Regions from separate parts of the Homo sapiens genome. Here regions 2 and 3 are each linked to region 1. Evidence: promoter capture Hi-C in 16 types of primary human blood cells and fetal thymus (Javierre and others, 2016). All regions are on one chromosome and are shown on one strand. Each heading gives the region's core, a stretch centred on a gene start or on the middle of the fragment in contact. The rest is flanking DNA. Distances are from core to core; before and after follow the strand shown. Region 1 holds the start of IDH3A (isocitrate dehydrogenase (NAD(+)) 3 catalytic subunit alpha). Region 2 overlaps IREB2 (iron responsive element binding protein 2). Region 3 holds the start of HYKK (hydroxylysine kinase).

Region 1 (2,823 bases), core at 3-2,502:
GCATATTAAGGCTTAGAGATGTTTAGTAATTTGCTTAGGGTCACACAGCCAATCAGTGGCATTGCTAGGATTTAAATCTGAGACTCCTAAATTCCAGTACAGAGATCTTTTCCTTAAATAACAGTGCATCTCTGGACCTCTCTTTAAACCGAAAAAATGGGAGAAAAGTAGTATCAAACTTACAGAAAAACGTTAAATTGTTTATAGATTTCTAGGGGACCACCCTTTCATAGCAACAGGAGACTTGAGGCCTGATGGCCTGTACCATCATTTGCTATGTGACCTTGGGAAATGGGAACCAAGACACCTAGGTTCCTCTCCCTGCTCTGACACCGACCTCCTGTGTGACCTTGAGCAAATTCTTCTTCAGGCACAGGTTAGTTCCACTGAGAAGCTACGGAACTGCATAGATGATCTGAAACCCTTTCCAGCTCTGGCATCTGAGCTGTCAAGGAGAGCTAAAGCGCTCCAGATTGCAGGATTCCCACCAATGAAAGGTAAAAGGAAGGCTCTGCTGGTCTCTCTCTCCGAAGGTTCAGACGGTAATTCCGAGGTGTAAGATGCCCTATCCTATGAAGGGGAAATAGCTACAAGAGCACTAGAGGTCTGACTGGGAAGAGCGCCAAAGGGAAAACAATCTGATAGGGAAAAGGGCCCCCGGATTCTCTCACCTGGGAAAACCTCCCAAGCTCAACGCCAGTGCCCGTGGCACCTGCGGTTCCCCGGCCAAGGGCCGCGCAGACAGCGGATGAGAGGTGTGGGCAGTGCTGAGGGGATCAGTCCCGCAGCAGGGCCGCAGCCGGGGAAGCGGCCCGGATGGCGGAGCCGGGACAGAGGCTCCCGTGACCTTCCCGGGCTCGGCGCGAAGCCTGGGCTCTGGCCTGGGCGGATGCGGGTGACGGCAGCCGGGTCTCGGCAGGAGCAGGGCCGGCGCCCCCCCGCCTTGACCTTGACGCCGTCCCCGCCTCTGCGCTGCTGACCCGGCCCGGGGCGGCCCATACACTGCGAGCCGGCCACGGAGCGCGGGGCACGGGCGACCAGGACCGGCTCCCAAGCTGTCCCCGCGGGCAGCCACCGCCTCCCTGTCTGGCCCACGCGCCCGCCCACACCCGGCACGCGACCGGCTCTCCTGCCAGCCCTCGCGGCCTGCCTGCCTGCCACACGCCGGCCTGCCAGCGCTCACCTTAGAGATCCACGCGGGCCCAGCCATCGCTTCCCCTCCTGGCTCCGCAGCAACAGCCGCAGCGGCAGTGCGCAAGCGCCCACCCCACGCTCGGAGCCCGCCCCTGCACGGCCACGCCCCCTGAACGCCCCGCCCCCTAGACCGCCTCAGGATTGCTTCGCGCTCGCTCGCTGCCCCGCCCCTGGACATTCCGCTGGCGAATCGCCGGGCTCGTCTCTCTGTGACTGGCCTGGCTGAGCGCCAGGCGAACCCGGAAACTGAGGGGCCGGCATCTCCGGGAAAGCTTCTTCCTCCCCTCCCTGGTTCATTGACTCGCTGTTAAGGTAAGACGTTTGTTCCACACCTACTAGGTGCTGATTAATGTTCTAGGATCTTGGGGATATAGCGCTCCTCATAGAATTTACAATCCCGTGGAGAAAGACACATAATTTTCTTATTCCACAAATTTTGATTTTTTTTTTTTTTTTGAGACCGGGTCTCACTCTGTCGCCCAGGCTGGAGTGCAGTAGCGCGAACAGGTTCACTACAAAGCCTCGACCTCCTGGGATCAAGTAATTACTAAGCCCAGCCCAACTTTGTTTTTTCTTTTCTTTTTCTTTTTTTTTTTTTTTTTTTTTCTCCGTAGAGATGGGGCCTCGCTATGTTGCTCAGGCTGGTCTGGAACTCCAGAGTTCAAGCGATCTGCTTGCCCCAGGCTCACAAAGTGAGCCACTGCGACTGGCCGAATTTTATTTTTTACCAGCTTTATTGAGGTATAATGTATATATAGTAACATTTACTCACTGTAAGTGTACAGTTTGATGATTTTTAGTAAATGTAAACAGTTGCACAACCATCACCACAATCCAGTTTTTGAGCATATGAAAATGTTCCTTGTGTCCGTTTATAGTCAATCCCGCTCCTGTCCTCAATCCCAGGCAACTACTAATCTGTCTATTTAGCTCAACAAATATTTCTGAGGGTCAACTAGACACCAGGCACTGTTTTAAGTGCTGGGGCTTAGTGTCCAGTAGGAAAGACAGGCTTCAATCAAGTGTCACACACATGTCATTAAAACTGTTGCGCCAAGAAGCAAAAGAGCAAGGAGCTATGGCAAGGCAAAATCAGGCAACCTGATTCAAACCTAACCTGGAGGTCAGGGAATGCTTCTCTGAAGAAATAACATCCATACTCACCTTTCCCCTTGTCCTCTCCCTGTCCATCACAAACTCCTGAGTTCCTGCTGATGGCCAGGCCTCTAGCTGGGTGCCAGGGGAGGTCAGGTGTTTAAACCAGGTCTCTGCTACCCTACCCTGGGAAGAGTTCTATCCAGAGAGGAGCTGCCTACCCACCCAGAGAGGTGATGAGTGCAGTAGAGAAGTGATCCCAAGAGCTTTTATGACCTAAATAATAAACTGCAGCTAAGTCTGTGGCCTTGTCAGGAAGGAGGGCTTTTATCAACCCCTTTCCATTGGGCCCCTTCCCCTCATCAGGCCCTGGCAGTCCCATCCTGAAGTGTTCTCCCACAGTTCCTCCATCCCCAATGTCACCCCTGCCCTCCTTCGGGCCAGACCACCTCAGGCCCAGGCTCTTACAACAGCCTCTTCACCTGCCAACCTGCCCTCCCCTTCAGGCACAGCTCTGACCAGGGCTCGCCCCGG
Region 2 (2,947 bases), core at 259-2,758, 340 kb before region 1:
AGTTAATAAATGCAAACTATAAGATTTCTTTCTTTTTTGAACTGACCTACACAACTCACAGAAATTGTGCATACTTGGTATCGTTTCTTACACTGTAACTGTTATTTGGTTGTACTTGTTTGTCTTGTCTTCCCAACTAAGTATCTTGAAGCTAAGACCACATCTCCTACTTCTGTGTATCCAACCTGGTGCTTTGCTCATTTGATATGCCCAATAAGTGTTTCCTGAGTGATAAGGCATCAAAAATTGTATGGTAATGGCAAGGTAGCAAGTAAAACTAAAGCATATTTTTTCTATCTTCTCTTTGTATATGAAAGGCACAAACAAGCAGCTTCAGTACCTACTGAACACCAATATCAATATGAAGTGCGATAGCTGTTACTTACCCAAGCTTACTTAGATATGGTAATACTCCACTTGAACTGAGGTAATGTGTAACCATCCCACTGCCTGGAGATAAACTTGTTCTTATATAAGGTTTAACACGCAGACCAGCTTCAACAGCCTTTTTAGCCAAAAGACCTGCACAGCCAACAAACAATGATTTATTATGGCAATGTTTCTTTCCCTCTCTCACCCATATTAAAGTAAAAAGTGAGAAGTAATTTATTTAACAGATTAAAGTATGAATTCATAAACTTACTGTCATTATTTTGTCCACTTTATTCTACTGATTTGCTTCATTTACAACAAATTTAAAATTACAGCCTTTATGTTGAAAATTATTAAGATACAGGCTGACATCATTCACACAGAGTAAACAAAAGGTGCACATATATAAGTACATGTTAACAAAACCATTTTTTCTCTTTCTTCTTTTTTCTAAAGCAAACCATTTTAAAGTCATAATTACAATAAGAGCAATGTAACACATTATACATGGTTTTATACAACTAAGGAATTGTTCCAATGGGCATACAAATTAATTTCATTTACAATCCTTGCCAAGACAATGATCTTTTACTACTTTTATAACTTTTAATGAAATCTACCACACTGTTATGGTTAACTTCTAGATAATCAAGAAATACCTGCTAATTAACTATAGTTCTAAATTAACAAGAGAAGCAGATACAACCTAAAATTAATTGACAGGTAAGTTATAGTAAACAGTAAATTTACCTTCGGTGTAATAAAAACAACATAAATCAAACTCAGGCTCCTTAAGACCTAACTAAAATACTAGAAAGTCTCTCAATATCAAATGTAGACACTCATGCATCATCTAAGAAACAAAGTTACAATAACAGAAAAGCCAACAATAATTAAGGAAAAAGAAAAAGTATGGCCATAAACCACAACCCACCTGCAGCAAGCATGACAGATGGATTGCAATTATTGGTACAACTGATAACTGCAGCAATGACCACTGATCCATGAGACAGCTTATATTCACTTCCTTCATAATGAATGGAGACAATATCCTTTTGTTTTTCAGCTGCAATTTGGAAGCCTTTAAATCCAACCTATACAAATTTCCACAAAAATATAAACTAAATATTCTGGGTATGTACAGAATAAAAGACTGGCAGAAAACATAGCAGATACCGGACATTTGATGATTTAACATTAAAAATCCTTTTTGTGAGTGATGCTAAAGGCCCATAACATTCAGTAGTTGTAATTCAGCTGAAGCATAAATCTGCATGGGCACGACAGGAGTCTGGTGATGTTCACAAGCAAAACTTTTATCTACTAAGCGAGTCCAGCCTACCACCCAGAATCCAGATCTCATTTGGCTTTGTTGTTCTTAATCATCCCTGTTTATAGTAATTCTCAAGAGATGGCAGAAATTTTTTTCTGTTAAAATGACCCCGAAGATTTCCTCCAAAGGGATCCTATGTGTGTGAGTGTAGCATAGCTGAAACAAGATTGGCTATGAGTTGCTAATTATTGAAGCTAATTGACAGGTACATGGCAATTCAGTGGACTATTTTGTTTTTGTACAAGTTTAACACTTTCTGAACAAAAAGTCAAGAAATCATAAAAAGAAAGGCTCTGAAAGGAAAGCCAAGTACTAGAGATCTCAGAATAGAGAAAGTGACAAGACTAAAACTGTGATTCTCAGACAGAAAATACAAACCCTCAAAAGCCAGAGACCACTTGCTACTCGGTCACATTTACCAAATTTTATGACTGTAGGCCAGGTGCGGTGGCTCATGGCTATAATCCCAGCACTGTTGGGAGGCTGAGGTGGGCAGATCACTTGAGGTCAGGAGTTGAAGACCAGTCTGGCCAACATGGTGAAACCCTGTCTCTACTAAAAATACAAAAATTACCCAGGAATGATGGTAGACTCCTGTAATTCCAACTACTTTGGGGGCTGAGGCAGGAGAATCGCTTGAGCCCGGGAGGGGGGAGGTTGCAGTGAGCCGAGATTGTGCCACTGCACTCCAGCTTGGGCAACAAAGTGAGACTCTGTCTCAAAAAAAAAAAAAAAAGTTTCTGTGATGATGTAACTATTCAATTATCTATGCTGTTCATCAATACAAGACCCATATGTATTCAGCATTTAAAAATGAGACTACTGTGACTAAGAAACTCAATTTTAAATTGTATATAATTTTAATTTAAATAGACACAATCAATCTCTGATCCTCACAATGGAACTGGGAACAAGCTTACCTAATGACTGACTTGCACATTAGACAGAAGGAAAATAAGGGGGCTGCTGGTGTGTGCCATAATATATAAAACATAGCAGTGAATTGAGTTTATGGGTCACCTTGTTGGTTCTTTACTACTTAGCACAAAGCGGGTTGAAAAACACGGATAAGAATAAAGTAACCTACCTTTTCATTTAAGCAAGCCTGGAAATCGCTTTTCATATCTGTCACAGCAACTCTATCCTGAGGTCTTTTTGGACCACTAACAGATGGAACTATTGAATTCAGATTAATCTGGATCACCTAAGAAATGAGAAAGAGAAAGAACAAGGAATTAGAAT
Region 3 (2,916 bases), core at 45-2,544, 360 kb before region 1:
GGTCCCACTATGTTGCCCAGGCTGGTCTCGAACTTCTGGGCTCAAGCAATCCTCCTACCTTGGTCTCCCAAAGTGCTGGGATTACAGGTGCAAGCCATCATGGCTGTCTTTTTGATTTTATTATTTTTATTTTTTTAGAGACAGTGTCTCGCTATGTTGCCCACTCACACATTTTTAAAAATTATTAACTTTTTTTCCTACTTCATTGAAAGGGAGAGGAGGAATTCAGGTACTATAGGCTGTTGGTCTATATATCCGGCCAACAGTATTTAGCTCCTGAAAAAGCCCGCAGGAAGCAAGTGTGATTTCCAACTCCAAGATCTGCGTCAGAATCTCACCACCTTTGTCCTGCAGCCGGGAGGGGGCTGGAACTTAAGCTCTGTACTTTGTGCAAAGTATACCAGACAAGAAACAGGAGTCATTCTTGATTCTTTCCTGTCCCTCACTCCCAACGTGTAACAAAGTCTAGTAAATTCTACCTTAGCATGTCTTCCAACTCTACCTTTCTTCTCCTACATTCCCTTTTGCTGCGTCCTTCCAAGGGATTATACCCAGTCAATCTCTGTATTCTCAGCCCCTAGGCTAGTCCCTTATTTAATATTAAATGGTGAACCAAGGGTGACCTTCATTCCACAGACTCACGGGGCAGTTCAACCCCAAGGGGATCATGAAACAGAAAGGTGGGGAATCTAGCATCTGCAGTTTTTCAAAGACAACAGTGCATTACTAGGTGCTTTTAAGGGTCTTCCTGGTGGGTGAAGGGGAAAAAGTGGTGGGTGAGCGGGCTGCAGAGGGGCTGCTGAACCAAGAGGCAGGAAAAGAGAGGAGGAGGGCGCATGAGTAAGTGAGGTTCAGCGGAGCTCAGAGACTGCTCCCAGTAGACACCGGCCAGGCGCCGGCACAGCCCTCGGCCAGCGACCCCACACAGACCCGGGAGGGCTGGCCTCGACAGCTTCTCGGGTGCCACGCTTTCATTCTGGGGGCCCAGCTCAGCCCTCCTAGGTTACAGGTGAGGTCCGGGAAGAAGGGTGACTTGCCCATCACGCACGCAGCGAGCTGAGGATAGCGCGGGCTGGAGGAGCCTGAGGCATAGGACTCCCGGCTCCACACTTGCAGCGAGCCTCCCTGCCCTCGGGGGCGACCCCGACTCCCGCAGCGGGGACGCAGGGCTCGTCTCTGCTTCCCCCTCCTTGGCTCACCGGCAGCGACCCGACGTCCTGGGGTGGATCCCGCTTTCCCGCAGACAGGTAGTGCGGCCTCGGCCGCGCACCGGCGCTAGGAGGTAGAGCAGGGGCCGCAGCGCCCGCGCCCCTCCTCCAAGCCCCGCGAGTCCTGACTTCTGATTGGCTCCTCCCGGTCCCTCGCCGCCCAGTCAGCGCAGACTACTGGATTTTTTTCCCGGCCCCGCCTAGGAGGCTGCGAACAGAAATTCAGAGATTCGGCTTCTGTTGACTTTCTGCAACTCCGCCCAGCCTTCTCACAGTGAGTATCCCAGTCAGAATCCGGCTACCTTTTCATGAACCGGACTCCTTATTCCTGATTGGCTCTCCGGGTTGCCGCCCCACCCCGAGTGGGCAGGCTTTCGGCTCTTGAGTGGCACCTCCGAGTTTCGCAGGGTCCACGTTGTCGTGGCGGTAACACTGACAGCTCCTCACCCGCATCCACGTTTTTGTTTCCTAGCCTTCATTCCTTCTGTTGGAGGCACGTATCCTGGAAGTGATACGCTTAGAAAGCGTGGCCCCAGAGAGACTCGCAATCCCAGCCCCAGGAACTGTAAGGGTCCTGATTGGAAGGCCTGAGTAAGGCCTGGCTGCGTTCCGCAGGAGGATGCTGGAATGTTAGAACCCGAACAGTTTAGGCAGGGCGCAGATGGCTCACGCCTGTAATCCCAGAAATTTGGGAGACCGAGGCGGGAGGATCACCTGAGGTCAGGAGTTCGAGACCAGCCTGGCCAACATGGTGAAACCCCTCTCTACTAAAAATACAAAAATTAGACTCAGGGGGTATGTCTGCAGCTGCAGAAAGATGTATGGGAACAGACACACAACTCTCCCTCCGAGATAAGCACAACAAAGAGACACAGAAGCAGTCCAAGCCTCTGATAAACTCTCCCACTCCGAATCCTTAAAAACTTACTTAGTCTGTAAGAGAGTGTGCCTCTGACCTAACTTGGCCAGACGCCCCTCTCAGGTTTTCTCTAAAATAAACCTCTTATGACCACCAAGCCACTTTTCGTGTTTCTTTCCTCTTTCTTTAATTCTTACACCGAGTAGTTGGGATTACAGGGGCCCACCACCACGCCTTTATCTAGGTAGTGGAATCAGTGGGCTCTCTTTCTGCAGGAAAGTCCGCAGAGACCCCATGATTTTCAGAAAGCTGCACGAGATTCATGGAGTAACAGCCAGGTTAGTTGGATGGTCTTAACTGTTAAGGGCATGAGGCGCTGATAAACAGCTTGATGCCCTTCTCCAGCCAAGCAGGACTTCTCCGATAAGTCAGAGCCCTCTATCTACTGTAGGCTACTGGAAGAGAGTCCTGGGTACTGGTCCACTCATGCCTGCAAATTGGTTTCTTATTTTGTTTTTGCCAATGCACATCCACCCTTTGTTTTCTGTCAGGATATAACACACTCGGATTATCTATAGTCACCCTGATTAACTTGGATGATTCCCAGACCCCTATCAACCACCTACTGAGGGAAGCTTCTTCTCCTGCTTTAGATATGGTTCTTACCTGCTTCACTTCTAATCTCCAAAAGGCAGGGCTGTTTTTCACAACCCCAGGGGAACATAATTAATATCTCATTCCTTTAGATTGTCAAAGAGTGATTTTGACTTGGATTTTTCTGTAACCAGAATTGGAATCCTATTGGCTCCCTTAGGCCCCTCTGCATGCTTTTTGCCTTGAGTGGCTTCT

The links. The method cuts DNA at HindIII sites, captures the fragments that hold promoters and counts their contacts. A CHiCAGO score of 5 or more calls a contact.
Region 2: a fragment that was not itself captured here is called in contact with the fragment with the promoter of IDH3A in region 1 in 1 of 17 cell types (erythroblasts); the score reaches 5.3 in erythroblasts.
Region 3: a contact is called between the fragment with the promoter of HYKK here and the fragment with the promoter of IDH3A in region 1, in 1 of 17 cell types (naive CD4 T cells). The highest score is 5.2, in naive CD4 T cells.

What each region holds. Positions count from the first base shown.
Region 1 is chr15:78,147,791-78,150,613 of GRCh38, reverse strand. IDH3A (isocitrate dehydrogenase (NAD(+)) 3 catalytic subunit alpha) reads right to left here and starts at 1,252. Exons shown (of 11, transcript NM_005530.3): 1 at 1,184-1,252. The coding sequence starts at 1,210. LOC124903534 (a long non-coding RNA gene) reads left to right here and starts at 1,395. Exons shown (of 2, transcript XR_007064725.1): 1 at 1,395-1,506. RefSeq lists a silencer at 713-1,292. The HindIII fragment of the contact is 1,572 bases long and covers 1-1,468 here.
Region 2 is chr15:78,483,280-78,486,226 of GRCh38, reverse strand. IREB2 (iron responsive element binding protein 2) reads right to left here. Exons shown (of 22, transcript NM_004136.4): 11 at 2,793-2,909; 12 at 1,307-1,466; 13 at 387-522. Among named protein-coding and RNA genes, the nearest start is that of HYKK, 23 kb to the left of the region's middle. The HindIII fragment of the contact is 2,229 bases long and covers 394-2,622 here.
Region 3 is chr15:78,505,955-78,508,870 of GRCh38, reverse strand. It overlaps HYKK (hydroxylysine kinase), which reads right to left and starts at 1,294. Exons shown (of 5, transcript NM_001013619.4): 1 at 1,200-1,294. The HindIII fragment of the contact is 14,973 bases long and covers 1-2,704 here.